7 separate regions of the Homo sapiens genome follow, and regions 1, 2, 3, 4, 5 and 7 are each linked to region 6. Evidence: promoter capture Hi-C in 16 types of primary human blood cells and fetal thymus (Javierre and others, 2016). All regions are on one chromosome and are shown on one strand. Each heading gives the region's core, a stretch centred on a gene start or on the middle of the fragment in contact. The rest is flanking DNA. Distances are from core to core; before and after follow the strand shown.

Region 1 (2,700 bases), core at 11-2,510, 570 kb after region 6:
AAGAGTGAAACAATTCTTTCATACAAACCAAAGGCTAGCAATCACATGACAGTATGGAATATTGTGTTTTTATTAAAATATCTAATCTAAGAGATATAAATTCTAGAGATTAATTTTGAAATCTTCTGTTACTAACCACAAAATTTCCTTAAATGCCGTATGTTCAACCCGTAGAAAACAACAAGGCAGACGCAGGATGTATCCATGAATCTTACAATGCCCTCCAAACACTTGTCAATGGTGAGGCTTAATTTTACTGGAACATGCTTACCTAGCTGATCATTCATGAAAGAACAGCTGCAGCCAAGAAAGACTTTATGTCTTACTCTGAGGTTTTCTTTTCCAAAAAGGAGCTAGCTATCTCATTAACACACCTTCACATCATGCAAAGGTCCACAATGTCTTTGAATTTCCCACATGGAGAAACTGTGGCATTTAAATTTGATGGTTATGGTCAAGGAATGAGTTCAGACATTGTTCTTGTTTTTGCAAACTTTCTTCTGAGGACCAACTGAGGTTATATCAGAGGCATTTCTTCAGAGAGTCTAGCCATGAAGCAGTTACAGTTTTATTCATTTGCTCTGGGTGGTGGTTCTTCTTAAACCCTGAGTCTACTATGTTATCTGCTGTGGTAACCAGCAGGCTGGTGGACAGGCACAGCCCCGCTGGGATATTGGAACCATTGGAACCACACAGACAGCACAGGCTGAGCCATGCCCACCCTGCACAACATCGCCTGCACACTCTGCTCCTGATAGGGCCACCACTTAGGGCCTGATACATGTAAACACTTGGAAGCATGAGAAGTGTTCGCTTTGTAACAGAAAAAAAATCCCGATATTTCTCAGGATGCATAATGCCCAGAAATAGGCCAAGAAGAGCTCAGGGCAAGCCAACTATGTCTAAAAACTGAACTGGCCTCAGGAGGTAAACTCACCCCAGGTTTTGCTTATTAAATCATTCACAACTAATGGGATAGCTCCTGCAGAAGTTAGATGTAGGTGTGAGGGAAGTCAGTAAAGAATTTGAGTTCTTATCCAAATTTCAAACTACTCTGACCCTTACCCAACTCCTATGCTTTACTTGGAGGATGAAAATAATAGCACTTGTAGGACTGATTGCTAATAACAGGCTGCATAATAGATTACAAAGGGGTTTTGTATCAGCTAAACTACTAACTCTCACAGGCTCACATTGAAGCACAAAAAGGTATGTCTCAACTTCTCTCCCATTTCATTAAACAAACGTGTGTGTGTATAGGTATGTATATATATCATTCACACACACACACACACACACACACACACACACACACACACACACACATCCTGGGGTTAACTCCTTAGCCAATCAAGAATGCAACCTTAGCAGTATAAAAAACACCCTTTTCCCATGTATTTTTAGTTAACAACCACAACAAAATAGGGCAAGTCTAGCAAAGAGCCATCTGGTTCTTTGTTACACTTTCTGAAAGGCAGCAGTGTAGAATAAGCGCCAGCCCCACACCAGCCACAGCGGCCTCCTTGCTTTTCCTTGAGAAGACCCAGCCCAGGGCCTTTGCATTTGCTCTTCCTTCTGCCCAAACTTCCTCTCTCCAGGTATCCATATGGTTTGCTCTTTCTCTTTCTTCAGGCTCTGCCTATCAATAAGATGTTCCCTGACCACCCAATATAAGGCGAAATTTCCTTCCCCTGTCACTGTGACTTTCTTCTGTTTCTATATTTTATTCAAAGCATATTTCACTCTCTGAATAATACATATTTACATGGTCTTAGTCTCCCGCCCTCCCCCACCAGAATATAAGATCTGCGAGGGAAGGAGCTGTGTCTATTTTATTCACAGCTGTAATTTTAGCACCCAGAACAATGCCTAGCATGTGATAGGTGTTTAAGGAATATTCAATAAATAAATAAATAAATAAATAAATAAATAAATTTTGTTGCGATTTAACTTATTCTGTGTTATACAAAAATGTGTCAAATTAGCAAGTAAATTAACGTCAAATAATGTCTACATTAGCAAATGCTTACAACAGTACCGCTCTGCTGATGAACCTTGACAAGCTATGGTCCATGCTAAATTAAAGGTCAAGTTTGACTGCCTCTGAAAACATTTCATTTTCTCCACTGCTCTGGATGGGTAACCCTGTGATGACCAAGGGTGATGTGCCTGCTGGATGATTCCAATCCCCAGTTCTCTAAATTTGATTAAACTCTCCCTACTCCAACTAAAAAGAGAATCAGCTCAGTGGACTGGCAGCTGAGAGATCTGGAGTGCCTCTTACCCAAACACTGCGTTCGATGGCCAAACACAAACGTGGGAACTGTCTATGTGGGAGACCAGTAGAGCCAGGGCAGCAAGTACAGAATTGGCCATTAAAGCCAAGGATGCCCAAGGTAAGGAGAAAGAGGGCATCACAGAACTGGCCTGGGTAGGTTCTGGCCTTGGACTCACACTTTCCAGGTGATTGGAGTGGGCCTACATGGGCAGGTTAGATCCATGTGAAAGGAGCTGATGAACATCACCTTGGATCCTCGGCCCTGCAAAACGTAGGCATTCTGGTTTGTAAGTGACGTTCTTTCTGGTTAGATTGAGAACAACTTCTATTTCCCCACATTATGAGTGAAATACTTTAAATGAATTTGACCTTTTAAAAATCATCAGGCAGACAACTTGAAAGGCCTTTTGTGATCAATGTGG
Region 2 (2,700 bases), core at 98-2,597, 740 kb after region 6:
TTGGCAAAATTACCTGAACTCTTTAAATTCAAAAACAGGGAAACTAATAATAATACCTCCTTAGAGTGATTGCAAGAATTAAAGTATTAATATACGTCCACACCTAGTAATGTGTCTGGTGAATAAAATGTGCTCAATGTATGGACACTACTGTGTCACCACTAGGGAAATTCCCTTAAATGTAAATGTTTTTACAGATACGTTTTTTAGCATGGGGTAAATTATATGGACCACAAAATGGCCTTGGCTAAGGCGTTTTGAGGGAATTATGAAGTTGTCTTATGGTAGGAATACATCTTGATAAGAAAGGAAAAATGTAAATGTGAGCATCCACGTGTGATCAGTGAGAATGATGCAGAATTTAACATGCATTTTTTTAGATTTGCTTAATGGCAAGACTATGCGATATCTACCTCTACCTGTCACTACCTCTACCCTGAGCCGCTTTATGATAGATGTGTTCCTACAAACTTGTGTAAAACTCAGTTTTAACTCTAAGCATCACTTCTCTGCACTGGAGGAAGTTTTGTAAAGCAAATAACCCCCACCTAATCTATCTTGCTTTGAAGGCTGAAACCTTCTCCTATCTTCGAGTGGACAGGCATGTGTTCTGTATTTTTTTGCACTGGGCTATCACCCTGAGAGGTGAGCCATAACTTCTACCCACTTTGGTATGCTCCACAGCACCCTTTCCAAAACTGCAAAAGCCAACTGAAAGTATGGGCAATAAGAAAATATTAAAGAATCGACAGAGTAATTATTGGCACCTTGAACACACTAGTGTTTGGGGATGTTTAATTAGATGGCAAGGTAGATTTAATTTTTGAAGCTCTTAGATCATAGATCTTGGTCGAGTCCATTCTACGGGAAGATAACAAGGGGGCATTGACTACCTGCTGCACTGTTTTCAAGCAAAACCCACACTGGGCGGGCTCTGGGTGCCATCTCCACAAAGCCCCCTCCCCAAGGGGGATTCTTCCACAGGGGAATTTTCTCAAGGAAGGTCCCGTGTCAGGAATGCTGCTCAGGTACGGGTTCCCACGTGCCCACACGCAGGGCACGGGCTCACACGGCAGGGCGGGCTGCCTCTTTAAAGGCGCGGACCTCAGGGACCCCCGAATTTGGCTCCTCAAGTCTAGGCATCAAACTTTCTCCTGGAACAAAACCTCTTTCAACCCACATGGAGGCAGGAGGAGGACGGAGCCCTGGGATGCCATCAGCGGCGGCCCGGAGACAGCGCTCCCACCCCCGCCCGCTTCCCTCGGTCCCCACCCTCTTCCTCCGAGGGAAGGCGGCCCAGACCGCACAGCCCCGCCCGGCCCCACCCACCCACTCCCCGGCAGCGAGCCCACAGCCTCACAAAGCTACCTCCCGGGCGCTGCGGTTCCCCGGGGCGAGGGGCAAGCGGGGCTGGGTACCTGAGGAAGAGGCCAGGACACCGGCGCCCAACGAGACCCACAGCATCGCCCCGGCGCCGCCGCCGTAGTTGCCACCGCCGGAGGCTACTTCGCTGCGCCGAGCGCTGGAGCCCCGGGAACCTGGTGCCGCCACCGCCTGCGCTCCCTGCGCTGCGCTGCGCTCGCTGCGCCCGGGCTCTGCTGCCCGGCGACCGCCACGGTCAAGCGGAGCCCCGCCCCGTGCGCGCCGGGCGAGCTGCGGACCCTCCAAGGACGCGCCGCCACCCCGATTGGCTGCGGGAGTCACTGGCCCCGCCCCTGCTCGCCGCGCTCCTCCCACGCCGGGGGCGCGCGCTGCTGGCGGCCCAGAGACTGGCGGCTTCTCCAGGGGCGTCGCGGGAGGGTGCGGTCCGCGCTGGGCGAGGCTTCCTGCGGGCACCGGCGCGCTCGGCCTCCGCTCCTGGGCGCTGCAGTTCTCCCTCTCCTTGCCAGCCCAGAGATAAATAGACGGCCAGAAAGAAAAGAAAAAGAGAAAACATCTCTAGAGCTCTGCGCGGGGAGGGCAGTGGCCGCGGCAGCTGTGGTGTGAAATCTTATTTGTATAAATTCGTTTCTCACGGAAGCCCAGGAAAGGCTGTCTAGGGTGAAGCACTGGAATTGTCACCAAGGCTTTTTTGTTTTTGCTTGTTTTTTAACCTGAAGGTGTCCTTACACACCTCTAGACTTCTTTATCTTATGAAGAAACTAAATCCAGTTAAACAACTTGTCCAAGGTCATAGAGCTGGTTACAGATTGATTCTGTATTTCAATGCTAAATCAAAGCTGCCTCAGCGTTTATTTCTTTTCTGTCCAGAGAAGAGTTGCATTCTCATATGTAATGCTATGTATACTGTATAGCAAACAATCAATTAAAAATATAGAGATAGAAAGTAGATTAGTGGTTGTTGGGGTGGGAGGGCTGGGGAGTGATTGCTAATGGATGGGACTCTCTTAGGGTGATGAGAATGTTCTGCAATTTGATAGTGGGAATGGATGCACAGCTCTGAATATTCTAAAAACCACTGAATTGTACATTTTAAAGGGCTGAACTTTATGGAATGTGAACAGTATCTCAATAATTCTGATGTTTAAAAATGTATTGGCCGGGCACGGGGCTCACGCCTGTAATCCCAGCACTTTGGGAGGCAGAGGCAAGTGGATCACGAGGTCAGGAGTTCGAGACCAGCCTGGCCAACATGCTGAAACCCCGTCTCTACTAAAAATACAAAAATTAGCCGGGCATGGTGGTGCGTGCCTGTAATTC
Region 3 (2,700 bases), core at 154-2,653, 550 kb after region 6:
GAGGCCAAAGTGACTTTCTGCCACTAAGAAAATTCCCAGACCAACTCCCAAGCTGCTAGAAAGTATGCACTTAGGGTAAGTGGGATATTTTAATAGTAAGTGAGGTAGAAAGTTAAAGTAGTCAAGGGGTAAAGTTAAAAATGTAAATCTGGGAGAAAAAAAACCAGCCCAAAATAACCAACTAATTTTGACATTTATTTATGTAGTTCTCTTCTCTAGAGTGTAGCAAGTGTTGATTACTCATAAAATAACCCACTTTGGATGCCAAGGCTAAGGGAAGACATGGTCTACATCCGATTTGAAGTGGATTTAGAAGGGAGGAGGGCATTAGAATACATGAATATTATTTTAATGCTTATTGGGCATTTACAATGTGCTAGGTATTGTGCTAAGTGCTTTACATCTTAATACCTCATTTACTCCTATGAGGTACCCATTATTTTTGCGTACATTTTACAGATGAGGAAACTGAGAGTGATTACTTAACTGTCCGAAGCCATGCAAGTGCAGGAGCAAGAGATCTGAAGCCCATTTGGCCCTGCCATTTTTACATTCTAGGTAAGCGAGGCCTTATTAGGAGACTGATGGGTGTACAGGCATGAATTTGGGAGCATGTTAGTTAAATACAGAGGAGAGTGAGTAGATTAAGCTTGGTTGGCTGGAGCAGAAAAACATGAGAGAGGATGAACGAGGAGCTCAAAGAGGGTCCTGAGTGGCTACCACTGACACTCAGAGGCAAAAGGGAGCTGGGGAGCAGCCTTTGACTGTGAGGACACCACTGGAGCATTCCAGGTTAAACTGAGAAGGGCATGTGGAGGCTGTGGCCATGATTAACAAGGGGCCGCAGCCGTGAGAACCACTAGACAGCTGGGGAAAGGCTGGATAAGAGCAGGGAAGAGCAACAGGACAGACATCCAAGGGGACAGGAAAGCCTCCATATTCAGGTCTACATAGGACATTTTATTTCCAGACATCAAGGCCATTTTAATTCCCACCTCCATTCAAATCAAAGGGCAGCATGACAGAGTAGACGTGCCGATAAAGAGGAGAACACCAAAATGAACATCGAATGAAAGCTAGTACATCTCACTAGCCAGCGACTGATCTATTTATTGGCCTGTGAATTCTTTGGAGGGGACTAATATATATATAATTACATTTTCCCCACAATGTGCCATTTAAAAAAATATGGAAAGCTTTACCTGGAAACGCTTATGGAATTACCTTTCTTCTAACACCTTGCAAAACAGCCAGTCATAGTTATAGAGTTTGTTTTATTGCTTTTTAATTACTGCACTTTTGTAAATAAGCACCACCATATAATTAAGAGGCTGAGTCTCCATTCAGGTATGTGGGCAGACATCCTCACCTCTCAAACTTGTGAGGCCAGGCATGCGCGTGCAGGTGCATGCAGGTGCAATTAGCCGCTTGCCTCATGGTGCATCCTCTCAGCCAAGGTTACACTGAGTATGTTGAGCCTTAGGGCTTCTGTTTCTACTTTGCCTTCTACACAGACAAATTCCTTTCTCTCTTTGCTGCTCAAAATATGTAAAACTTAGCAATGAGAACTATGCTAGATTGTAAGCAGGTTAGTGTTGTAACAAGCTTAAAGAAGATAAACAAAGTATATTTCCTCTTCCTCTTTCAAGAAAGGACTGAAAAACATTCTCCCCCTCAAAAGAATGCTGGAAAGCCACCAACTTCACTACTCTGAAATAAAAAAATTAATATAGTGGGCAGGGACTGTGTCTTATTCACCTTGTGTAGCCCCACAGCCTGGCACATAGTAGGTATTCAATAAATATTTGCTGAATGAATTGGAAGAATTCAAAATTGTATCACAGATATTCTCAAAGTAGAAATGAACAGTCATTTTGAATCATTTCCTGAAGTATGTATGTGGGGAGAGGAGTTTAGGAAGGGTGGAGAGAATATATACTTTATCTAGAGTGATTTGAAAATAGACAAGGGGAGAGAAATTTTTAAAAGAAATCCCATTGGCCTCAGTATTGTCACAACATAATTTTCTATTTAATGATGCAATGACAAAAATTGATGGAAGAAAACAGTCTGGTCTTGGAATAATCAAATATGTTTAAAAACCACGTACTGATGTCAACTCAAAAGTGAGTTTTTTCAGTTATTGGAAAACTGCTCCATAAAGAACACTGTATGTCAAATTCTTTTCATTAATCAAAGAGCAGATAGACAAAGGAAGATTCATCCTTGAGTGTAAAGTATTATAAAAATAATGAGTCCAAGTTAAATGATTTATAGCTATGACAAGTAAAGAATGCTGTTTGGGCAACAGTATTACTCCCAAATGGCTTCCCACTTGTAGAAAAACAGCTTCAGACAAGCCCCATAGTGTATACAGTGGTGCAAAATGACCTGGAAAAAATGGTTTCTATGGATATCATTTAGAGATGCACATCCCTGAATACCTTAAGGCTGAAGGTACTTTAGCTCTTTTCCTCAAAGCAATTGCAGCACAGGTTCTCCTGCCCAGGTTTTGTTTATATAAGAACAATCTTGGCCACAGGTCATTTGTGTAGGAGACAATTAATCACTAGCTCTTTGAGCACAGGTAGGTTAATCAGTATGCACATAATACAATATTAAAATTTTCACGGGGAAAAAATTTTTTTATTTAAAACAATAAAGCATCAGTAATACCTGCTGATCTTTTATCCAAAGCAA
Region 4 (2,709 bases), core at 196-2,695, 690 kb before region 6:
CTCCCTTGGAGCAATTGAAATATGATTTTGGTATGGGGAAAGATACTATATATTAATTTACATTCCACCTCATTACCTAGAGGATTTGAGGTCATTTATAGAAGAATATATAACTAAAGATTGCAAAAAAGATAAATCTGATGAAAAGAGAAATGTTGGCCAATTAATGAGGTAAAACTAGGAAGATATATCACATGGAAATATAAAATGTAAGGCCTTGAATAATAATCAAAAATGGGCTGCAAATTTGGCTTGAGCTTCCCTGATCTAAGCAAAGAGGAAAACACAACCAAGGGAAGATTTTCCCTGTTCTTAAGGTAAGAACTTACCAGCCAAGATTTTCCTGGGACTTGCTCTTTGGGAGAATTTTCTCCCAAGAACTTGACCTATGAGAGGAATTTCTCATACAAATCTCATAAAGGGAACACTGCAAGCTATAGTGAATGGTGCCTTCAACCATGCCTGCTGTGAATTCAGTAGTGAGTCTCATTTCTTATAACATCCTGCAGTGGAAATGGGGGCGTCACAATAAATTATAGTCCAGTAGAAATATTTGGGTGTGGGTGGGTGGGTAGGTAAAAACGAGAGGTCAGGTATGCAGTCTTCAGATTCTCTGTCTTAACCTAGAAATAGCATGGAGATTATCCACAGGCAATTTCTATAAGTCTGCTTCACAGAACACTAGGCCCATTAGACAGATATTCAAGGGAGAAAACATTTCTGTGGTTAAGTCATTTTTGGAAATGCTACATTCCCTTTCCCTTGGAAATTCAGACTTATGAAAGGCTCAGGAAAATCTTGCACAAAGTAGTTTAACTGTGTTTAAACTGGTATATTTCATCTTGAAACCACTTTTCACAGGATACTGGGAAGTCACATATTGCAAAACCAGCTTTCCCTGGGGAACACATTTTGGAAATGCTGATCTAGGAGAGTATGTGGCCTACGCTTCCCTTAGATAATTCTCTCTGAATATACTTCTTGCATAGATTTGGCAGTAGATACTTTGAAGTTGTGTTTTGGAGAGGAACATTGCAAGTATTCTATGTTTTCCAAAAAGGCCAGCCACAAATACTTTAAAAGTCAACTGAGTAAAGGCCAGATGACCATCTTTTTATGAAAATTAACAACCACACAAAGATTCTATCTTGGGTAGGCAGAACAGAAAGCTGAGTCGGTATATGGGTAGAGTTAATAATTATAACATCAAGAATACAACCATTCCTCAAATAACTCTACAAGATAGGTACTGTTGAGCCAGAAGGAAGAAATTATTGCCTTCTAGCTCTGGCTTTGTCTTACCATAATGTAGTTGAAGTCCTGGGTGAGGTCCAAATGGTTCTAACATTAATGTAGCTAATTCAGGATATTCCATTACTGCTGGGAAGTGGAGTCACTGCCCCACAGGAAAGAAGCAAGAAACTCTTCAGAAGTCTTAGAGTCTCCTTTGCCGTGGGTGACATGGGATATGGACTCACTGAAGCTCAGGCACTGATGGGTGGCTCCGAGAATTTCTGAATTCATGGTCCAAAAATATCTTTGGTTATATAAAGGCTCTCCTAGTATGACAGAAAGAAGTGAATGAAGTAAAATTATGTAGATAATTCTAATTAGTAAAATCTGCTTGCTTTAGTTATGGAGACAACTTATCAATTTCCAGGAAGTCTACAAATATATTCTTCAGATGTTTTTCCTCCTGCTGGCAAAGAGATACACATTAGCATTCACATTATGAATGACGCTTCTGGAGAGAAATCACACAACATCCAAAAACTCCAACAGAATGCATAGGGAATTACCATACTGCCTAGCCCAAGCCGCCACACTGTGAAGTCACTCAAGACCATGGTGGTCATTCTGGACTGGTGCAGTCTAGGGAAGGACCAAGTACCATGAAAATTTATATACTACTGTTTGAAAAGACATGAATTCTCTCTCTTTTTTTTTTTTCAGAAGCTTAGGATCTAAAATAATCTAAATGGAGAACTTGGAAAATAACTTCAAAATTACAGAAAATGCTAATGCTGTTAGCAAAAGAAAATCAATAGAAATAGATCTACAGTGTCTGGCTAGACTGTCAAATGATTTTCCTCACACAGCATAGGAATCCTGAGAATTTTAAAGGTCTGACAGAGGCAGAGCTTACTAAAATACAAATGATTTGTGTTGCTTTGCCTCCTAACAGTTGGATAAAACACAAGGGCGAAACAATGCAGAGAGATTGGAAAGGAACTTGGCAGTCACCAAGTACCTAATTTACATGTCAGGATTTCGAGCTGAAGTAGGCATTCTCTTCCTGCATTCCAACTCTCCCCTTCCTGCTTACTTCTGAAAATCATACATATGGACAGCAGGAACCTTTGATTAGTATTCAATCTCTATGAGTGAACAGTAGCATTTCATATACATTTATATTCACCAAACGACACACTGGATACAAAAAGTATGTATAGTCATAAAATCACATTTTCCTCTGAGAGTTATACCACCCTGAAATTATGTATAATATGTAAAATTATTATAAGAAATAAGAACGATTCACAAATCCTGCGTTAATGATATTCCAACGATTCTCACTCAAATAGACGGAGTTCTTATTTGAGAAAATTAAAGAATCTTCTCCAGATGCTTTGAGGGACACAACACATTTCCCACTACATGCATTTCTCAAAATAGAGTGTGAAATCCATCGCAAGGCCCTTACTGTCT
Region 5 (2,700 bases), core at 53-2,552, 950 kb before region 6:
ATTGAGGGATTGCTTCATTTTGCTACCATTATACTATAAAGTTACAGTAACATAGCCCTTCACAGTTCAAAGAGTACACATATATTCAGAAATAGTGGCATTGACTCCTTTGCAAATATCCTCAACTCTTATCCCTCACTTTTAGCACTTCCCTGGCAAAACTCAAACCATGGATGAACTCCTGCATGCATTTATCTTTTCTGAGCTTGGGCTCAGCCTGTTAACTGTTGGGTGGACTAGTGTGATCTCACACCTAAATTGGCTCTGCATATTGATCAGCTCTCCTACTCCTTTGCTTTACTGACTTTGCCCTTTCCTTCTGTAATCCAAATATCTCATTCTTTTCCTTCCTCAAATTATCAACTTCCTCAACTAATGACTTTGCCTCACACTTTATTGAAAAAAGAATTGTGAGCATAAGCCAAGAATTTTTGTGTATTCCCACCATCGAATCTATTTGTGTCTGCACTCATCAAACATCCTTGTATAGGAACCCCCTTTATACATGGTATTGCTTTCCATAGTTTCAGTTACCAACTGTCAACCGAGGTCCAAAAATATTTAATGGAAAATTTCAGAAATATAAATTTTAAATTGCTAGAAGTTCTAAGTAGTGTGATGAAATCTCATGCTGCCTCTCTCTGTGCCTCCCAGAACGTGTATCCTCCCTTTGTTCAGCATCCACTATCACAGTTATCAACTATCACCATATCACTGAGCTTGGATTCAAATAACCTATATTTTCCTTAATAATGTCTCCAAGGCCCAATAGTAGTGATACTGGCAATTTGGATATGCCAAAAGAAGCCTTAATGTGCTTCCTTTAAGTGGAAGGTGAAAGTTCTCGACTTAAGGAATCACCTAAGGTCACTAGGAACCAAGTGGTTGGTAAGAATCAGTCTTCTATCTGTGAAATTATGAAGAAAGAAAAAGAAATTCGTGCATAATATATTTAGGGTAGGGTACTCTCTGAGGTTCAGGCATCCACTAGGTTCTTGGAACATTTCCCCTGAAGCTAAGGGGGAACTACTATAGTTTAAAAGGGTGACAGGTCTTTTTATCAAATGCCAACACTTGCTATTTTTAGTTTTTAGTTTTAGCCATTAAGTGGGTATATGTTCAAAACTTTTGCCCATTTTAAAACTAAGTTGTTTGTAATTGAGTTGTAGGAGTTATTTACATACTATGCGTATGACTTTTTTGTCAGAAGTATATGTTGTGAATATTTTTCTCCCAGTCTGTGGCCTGCTTTTTCATTTTCTTAAAAGTGTCTTTTAAAGAGCAGCTTTTGTTTGTAAGTTGTATATTTGTAGGGATTTGTACGTATCCAAATATTCATTAGCATAAAGCTGTTCATAAAATCCTCTCATTTCTGAGATTCACAATATATCTTATTTATGTTTACGATCCACTTAATTTTTAGTATGGCACAATAATGGTTGATAGTCATATTTTTCAAAATAGAAATCCTGTTATTCTGGTAGCATTCGTTAAAAAGATTATCCTTCATTGAATTACCTTGGCACCTTTATTAAAAATCTGCCGATCTTCTGAATTTCTATTCTATTCAATTTCATTGATAAATATGTCTGTTCTTAACCCAGTCCCACACTGTATTGATTACTGTAGCTTTATACGTCTTGAAATCAGATAGTGGAAGTATTTTTTTCCTCAAAATTACTTTGGCCATTCTAAGTCCTTTGCATTTTAATATAAATTTTTAAATTGTCATTTCAATTTCTAAAAACATCTGCTGGGATTTTGAATGGGATTCTGTTAAATTTATTCATCAGCTTGGAGAGAACTGACATCTTAAAAATACTGAGTTTTCCAATCTATGAACATGGCATATATCTCCTTTTATTTTGATCTTTAATTTCTGTTTGTAATTTTCAGCATACAGGTATTGCACATACATTGTTAAGTTTCTTCCAACACATTTCATGGTTTTTATTCTAAGTGTATTTTTTTAGTTTAAGTTTTCAGTTGTTGAATCATTTTATTTTAGTTCTAGAATTTTCTTATGCATAGATTCTACGTCTCTAGTATTAATAAATGCAAGGCCGGGCGCAGTGGCTCACGCCTATAATCCCAGCACTTTGGGAGGCAGAGGTGGGCGGATCACAAGGTCAGGAGATTGAGACCATCCTGGCAAACACGGTGAAACCCCGTCTCTACTAAATATACAAAAAATTAGTCCGGCATGGTGGCAGGCACCTGTAGTCCCAGCTACTCAGGAGGCTGAGGCAGGAGAATGGTGTGAACCCGGGAGGCGGAGCTTGCAGTGAGCCGAGATTATAACACTGCACTCCAGCCTGGGTCACAGAGCCAGACTCCGTCTCAAAAAAAAAAAAAAAATTAAATAGTTTGTGCCCATTAACTCCAGTATTTGGATCATCTGTGGATCTTGTTTCCATTATCTTTTTCTTCTGTTTCCTGGTATGCCCAGAAATTCTTTATGAAATGTTGTCTTTGTTTATGAAAAAAAAAAAAATACTGGGCTCTGAGTGGTGTTTTTTACTTTATGGAAGTATTTGTAGGATTTACTTTTGCTTCTATTAGGAAGCTAGGCTAAGGGCAGAGCACCTTAATCTAATATGGAAGTGAGATTATTTCAAACTGGTTTTTAGACTTTGTTAGGTCTCGTCTATTTCAGGTTCTTTCTTACTCCTGAGGTGACCCTTTCTGTGTCCCAGCTAA
Region 6 (2,732 bases), core at 100-2,599:
GGCACCACTGCCCATCCATCACCTCTTATTAAAAGTACGAGAAGCACTTTCTTCGACATAAAAAAGGGTTAACCCTCGCTGGGGGAGAGAGGCTGTTGAAGACGCGCGTGGAGTGGGTGGGTAGCTGCTCTACCAACCCTTCCCGGAGCTCGCCCCGTCCGCGGCAAGGAACGCAGCAGCCTGCAGCTCCGAAGGCGAGGGGCGGCGTTTCTGGTTTCAGTCATTCGTCCAAAATAACTGTCGAGCTACTTAAGAGTTAGCTTTCACGTCTCTACCAAAAACCAACAGCAGTAGCAGCAACAACAACAAACAAGGTTTTTCTCCGGACCGAAAACTTTTAAAGTAACATTAAAATAACAGTGTAAAAACAATAACGAGTCACAATTGCACACCATTTTCCCCGCCGTTCCTTCTGAAAGGAAAGCTAGAACCCAGTTGTGGCCTGGGAGGAGTCCCTCCACGCCAGTGCTGGGCTCTTCCTCAACTGGCTGCTCGGGGACCACTCGGGGTGGCGCGGTGAGCGCGATTTCCCTCCGGCGAGCGGCGAGGGACAGTGCAAAAATGTCACGCTCAGCCCGTCCCCTGGCCCGAAGCGGAGGCCAGGCGGCGCGCGGGGACCCGGCGGCGGGGGCGAGAGCGCCCGCGGCCCCGACCCGCGGTCCCCGCCCGCCCCTCGCCCGGAAGGGGGAGAAGCCCGCCCGCGGGAGGATTCAACAGGAGCACCGCGCCGCCCGCCTGCCGCCCGGGAAACAGCCGCCGGCCGGCCGGGGCGCGGGGGGAGGGGCGCGGCGGCGGCGACGGCGGCGGCGGGAGGGCGCGGGCGGCCGGGCGGCCCCGAGACCCCCGCCCGCGCGCAAGGTCACCGCCCGCCGCCGCCGCCGCCCCGGCCGGGATCAGAGCGGCAAGTTTAATTTTCCAGAGGCTGCGGCAGAACCCGCGGCGTGGAGGCGCGCGCCGGCCGCGGGGCCCTCCCCACCCCCACCGCGCAGCCGGCCCGCGCCCCGCGACCCCCGCCCCGGGCCACCGCCAGGCAGCCACCCGCTGCAGCCCCCGATGCCGGGAGGCGAGTCGCGCCTGGCACCCAGGCGGGCGGCGCTTCAGCCCTGCCACACACACGCACACAGCGGCAGTGGCGGCCGCTGAAAAATGGAGCGCCGCAGCCAGAGAAGAGAGACATTTTCTTTCCGTTAACTGAATTGTTTCCTACCTCCGGGTTGCCGACTCGCTACTCCGCTCACTCCGGGGCTCTCCGGGATCCGCCGCCGCCGCCGCATCCAATCGCCTTCTCCCCCCCCCTCCCCTTCCGCAGCCAGCCCTGCCGTTCCTCCTCCTCTCCGCTTCAAAATGGCGCCAAGCGCTCTTCGGCGGCTGCTCCAATCGAACCGCCGCGGACAGCACCCGGGGGCAGGCAGAGCGCGGCATGGGTGCGCAGCGCCCCCTGCCGACCAGACGGCCCCGAGCGCGTCCGCCCTCCGAGCTCCACCCCGCCCCGTCCGCGCGCGCGCACGTCCCTCCTCAGCCCCGCCCCGTCCGCGCGCACGCAACCACACGGGCACGCCGCCGCGGGGCCCGCGAGAAGGGCAGCTGTCAAGGCGTCCACTACTCTTGCGGCTTCCTAGACCTCTACCGACAAAAACCACACCGATTGTTACGTAGCCCTATCTTTTTAGATAAAGGTTGGGAGATTTTTTTAAACCCTGACATTCAGCACAGGTGTTGTGATGGGTAAACAGAATTGGTATTATTAACTACTTTGCTCCTTACTTGTTAACTCTGACCTAGTCGTCTCGGAATGCCATACAAATAGTTTTCCTACACTTTACGTGTTATGTCTTTATTAAATCTCCCCGCTTTCCTAATTTGAGGAATTGTTTATAGGTGGTAGGCTGGCGGAGACAGAGTAATTGAGCCTGTGACGAAGCATTCCATTCCTTTGGCAGAATTGTCCTTATTAGAGGAAGAAATCATCTGGAGACCACAGGGACACATTCCAGGAGGTGGGTCTCCTCCCCTCTTCACCTCTAAGGGATGCCAGTCCCTCCTGCAGCTGTAGAGTGGGTTTAGCCTGGTCACCACAGCAGATCACCTACCTTGCGGGAAGGTTTCCTCCCCAGCCGGGTCCCTGCCAGAGCTGAAGAAGGGACTTCCTCCTCTTTTTACTTTAATACCATCCCTGCTGTAAGGAAGTTTCCCCTGATATGATGTATTTGGTTACTAGAATTTTGTTCCAGGGAGAATTTGTTTCAACAATGAACAAGCAAAGTGTGAATGAATGGATTACAGTAGGATACTTATCAACTGAAACAAAAGAGAGGTAATGCTGATATATAAACTAATGCTACTGTGTTAGAAAAGGTATGTACATCGGTATTCCATCGGACCCGGGCACCTAGAGATACTGAGACCTCTTCATTTCCATTTTTGTGGGATTCGCTGGACAATTCCGCCTCAGTCTCCTCCAGTGCTTGCTAGACCAATATGTTGTGTTACTGTATTCCTGTGTCCAAGATTTTGCCACTGAATACTCCAGGTTCTACCCATTTTATACATTCCTCGATGAAGTCTACTATGAGTTTTTTCTGCCCTCTTTTTAAAATTATCTCAGGAATTTTCTTATTTTACATCGTTGTTCCATCAACATAAATCTTGTATGGGAGAGTAGGATGTCTAGATCTAGAAAAACCTTTCCTCTTTGGTTGTTTTTATTATGTTTTTTACTTTATTTTCTTCAA
Region 7 (2,700 bases), core at 78-2,577, 970 kb before region 6:
AAGGGGAAAAAATGAACTCAAGTTTTTCCCATTTTGAAGACTAATCCTTTTCCCTTTAAAATAATTTACTTCGTTTTCTTAGGATATTATGCTTTCCAGCAGTCCATATAAGGACAGTTTAACTTTTTAAAAAGTTTAAACTTACAACCTATGTATTTAAGTTTTCAGACCAATTTGAAGTTCCACTAGAGAAAAACAATCATTTAAAGGTAAGAACTAATGTTGCACTAATATTTAATGTCCTGCTTGTAAGTATAAGACAATAGTGTGGGGTAGCTATGTGGACAGCCATAGGGAAAAAATACAAACCATCCTTAAAATATTACCTACCATGTCAGCAACAGTTTTTTATTTCATATTAAGCTCTCAGAACCTGAAAATCTGAATGTCTTAGCACAGTTGCTATACTACAAAATACCACAGACTAGATGGCTTAAATAACAGGCATATATTTCATAGTTCCAGAGGCTGGGAAGTCCAAGATCAAGGTGCTAGCACATTTAGTTCTTGTTGAGGGCTCTCTTCCTGCCTTGCTGACTACTTCTTGCTGTATCTTCACATGGCAGAGAAGAAGCTCTAGTGTCTCTTTTCTTTTTTTGAGATGGAGTCTCACTCTGTCGCCCAGGCTGGAGTGCAGTGGCGTGATCTTGGCTCACTGCAACGTCCACCTCCCGGGTTCAACAGATTCTCTTGCCTCCACCTCCCAAGTAGCTGGGACTACAGGCGCATGCCACCACACCTGGCTAATGTTTTGTATTTTTAGTAGAGATGGGGTTTCACTATGTTCAGGCCAGGCTGGTCTTGAACTCCTGACCTTGTGATCTGCCCGCCTCGGCCTCCCAAAATGCTAGGAGTACAGGTGTGAGCCACTGAGCCTGGCCTCTTCCTTTTCTTATAAGGACACTAATCTCATCATGGGAGATGTACCCTCACAACCTCATCTAAACCTCATTGCCTCCCAAAGACCCCAAGTCCTAATATCATCACATTGGGAGTTAGGGCTTCTATATATGAATTTTGGAAAGACATCAATATTTAACACCAACTATATAAAGTTTGAAGGTCCCTTAATTTCTTTATTCTCCAACTTTATTCCAATTCTTTCAAGTCTAAGGTATATCTGAGTTTTATGTATTACATATAAATAGAACTTTTAGTTGAATAAAATAGGTGATACTTTTGGGAAAACAAAACATAACATTATTAAAAACTCATTATAAATAAATGTAGCAGGTTAATGTAGTTTAGAAAATAGTTACATAAAAGTATTAGTCTTCAAAAGCATTTTCCAAACCTTTCCTCTAATTTTTTGAGACAGGGCAAAGGAAGAAACCGAACAGTCTTTGCTAATCATTTGAAAAGATTTTTTGGGGGAAAATAGAGAATTCAAATGACAGATTAGTTAAAAATTATAATATAAACCTGCCTATCATATGCCTAAAAACATGAAATTGAAAAGTCAACTATTCTTACTTTTAACACTGTATTGTCTTCAATTCTCAGGATATGTACTAATTTCCAGATGAGTAACTTGGTTAGAAAGGGATGACACTGAACCTGAGGATTACTGATAACAAAAAATAAAACTCTAATATTGGGAGAATTCTGTGCATGACAATAGCAGTAGCCTTATATTAGCAGACAGAGTACTGCTATAATCATTTTATTATATTTGTCAGAATAAACATTTAGAATTATATGGGAGTGACTTCTTATTGTATTTATAACCATTTTCAGGCCCTAGGATAGCATAACAGAAAGTAGAAAGTGAGAAGAATCAGTGAAACATTAGCTTCTGAGCAGTGTCAAAGTTTTTGCCCCTTTTCCTAAAGAAAACTTAGTAATTCCTTTCTATTTCTTTCACTTCTTTCCTTCATTTTTTCTGTATCCTTCTTTCTTTCCCTTCTTTCTCTCTACCGTACAGATAGGCAGGTATTTTTTTAATTTCAAAAAATAAATACAAATAGTTCAAAGCAAGCTGGGAAAAACACCTTACCAACAGGGCCATATTTTAAAAGAAAGTATATAAATGTGCTTTAGTAAATATATTATTTTTAAATTTTATTTAACAAGCATTTATTGTCCCTAGTACTTTCCAGGTACTTTTTTGTTTTTAAAATATTGACTTATTTAACCTTAACAACCTGTGAGGCAGATATCACTATTATCATCCCCAATTTATAGATAAGGAAACTGAGGCATAGAGAGGTATGTACCTTGCAGGTACCTTGCTCACAGTCACAGAACAAGCAAGTGATGGAAAGAAAGATTATGAGTGAAAAAAACCTTGGGAGAATTTGGAAACTATTTTTTTCCTCTTAAAGTATTACTTTGTTTCTGTTCTATACATGAGATTGTATTTCCACCTTTATTACAAAAGGACTTTTTACTACATTTGGCTTTTTACAATCTTAAATGGTTTTTATTTTCATGAAATAGTTTGTTTATTGGTTTAAATGATATGGCAGCTTACTCCCTTGTGCTTCTCTGTCATTGCCCTTGAGAATGTTCCGATGCACAGAAAAGGAAACTCTCACAGCTATAATTTCAAGTTAGGGACCAGGGTCATGTCAACATCTCGTTCTCCCTAAATTCTCTATGGCCTCTGAGGAAACCTTCTATAGGTATACCTTCCTGCCTCTTAGCAACGGTTTATCTAAACTCCTTTCTCTTAGCAAGGACTTATACCTTGGCTTACTA

What was found. The method cuts DNA at HindIII sites, captures the fragments that hold promoters and counts their contacts. A CHiCAGO score of 5 or more calls a contact.
Region 1: a contact is called between a fragment that was not itself captured here and the fragment with the promoter of PDS5B in region 6, in 1 of 17 cell types (endothelial precursors). The highest score is 6.0, in endothelial precursors.
Region 2: a fragment that was not itself captured here is called in contact with the fragment with the promoter of PDS5B in region 6 in 1 of 17 cell types (fetal thymus); the score reaches 5.1 in fetal thymus.
Region 3: a contact is called between a fragment that was not itself captured here and the fragment with the promoter of PDS5B in region 6, in 1 of 17 cell types (fetal thymus). The highest score is 5.7, in fetal thymus.
Region 4: the fragment with the promoter of STARD13-AS here is called in contact with the fragment with the promoter of PDS5B in region 6 in 1 of 17 cell types (endothelial precursors); the score reaches 5.3 in endothelial precursors.
Region 5: a contact is called between a fragment that was not itself captured here and the fragment with the promoter of PDS5B in region 6, in 17 of 17 cell types (total CD8 T cells, fetal thymus, naive CD4 T cells and 14 more). The highest score is 28.8, in total CD8 T cells.
Region 7: a contact is called between a fragment that was not itself captured here and the fragment with the promoter of PDS5B in region 6, in 6 of 17 cell types (neutrophils, total CD8 T cells, naive CD8 T cells and 3 more). The highest score is 8.9, in neutrophils.

The regions. Positions count from the first base shown.
Region 1 is chr13:32,012,800-32,015,499 of GRCh38, reverse strand. No RefSeq gene overlaps it. Among named protein-coding and RNA genes, the nearest start is that of FRY-AS1, 17 kb to the left of the region's middle. The HindIII fragment of the contact is 6,051 bases long and covers 1-2,700 here.
Region 2 is chr13:31,845,658-31,848,357 of GRCh38, reverse strand. All of the region lies in intron 1 of LOC124903150 (a long non-coding RNA gene), which reads left to right. It overlaps LOC124900336 (a long non-coding RNA gene), which reads right to left and starts at 1,153. Exons shown (of 2, transcript XR_007063748.1): 1 at 1-1,153. It also overlaps the pseudogene EEF1DP3. RefSeq lists enhancers at 537-1,036, 1,037-1,538 and a silencer at 1,387-1,906. The HindIII fragment of the contact is 4,650 bases long and covers 1-2,700 here.
Region 3 is chr13:32,032,760-32,035,459 of GRCh38, reverse strand. All of the region lies in intron 1 of FRY (FRY microtubule binding protein), which reads right to left. Among named protein-coding and RNA genes, the nearest start is that of FRY, 2.3 kb to the right of the region's middle. The HindIII fragment of the contact is 409 bases long and covers 1,199-1,607 here.
Region 4 is chr13:33,276,290-33,278,998 of GRCh38, reverse strand. STARD13-AS (STARD13 antisense RNA) reads right to left here and starts at 1,445. Exons shown (of 3, transcript NR_046693.1): 1 at 1,303-1,445. All of the region lies in intron 1 of STARD13 (StAR related lipid transfer domain containing 13), which reads left to right. The HindIII fragment of the contact is 6,008 bases long and covers 1-1,958 here.
Region 5 is chr13:33,538,430-33,541,129 of GRCh38, reverse strand. It overlaps a transcript of STARD13 not described here. Among named protein-coding and RNA genes, the nearest start is that of LINC02344, 200 kb to the right of the region's middle. The HindIII fragment of the contact is 6,829 bases long and covers 1-2,700 here.
Region 6 is chr13:32,585,069-32,587,800 of GRCh38, reverse strand. It overlaps PDS5B (PDS5 cohesin associated factor B), which reads right to left and starts at 1,349. Exons shown (of 35, transcript NM_015032.4): 1 at 1,208-1,349. PDS5B-DT (PDS5B divergent transcript) reads left to right here and starts at 1,356. Exons shown (of 3, transcript XR_001749808.1): 1 at 1,356-1,424; 2 at 1,879-1,997; 3 at 2,232-2,732. RefSeq lists an enhancer at 245-304 and silencers at 535-784, 1,205-1,284, 1,295-1,664. The HindIII fragment of the contact is 4,434 bases long and covers 1-2,732 here.
Region 7 is chr13:33,557,755-33,560,454 of GRCh38, reverse strand. The region is part of intron 1 of LOC102723406 (a long non-coding RNA gene); the gene reads right to left. It also overlaps a transcript of STARD13 not described here. Among named protein-coding and RNA genes, the nearest start is that of LINC02344, 220 kb to the right of the region's middle. The HindIII fragment of the contact is 3,728 bases long and covers 1-2,700 here.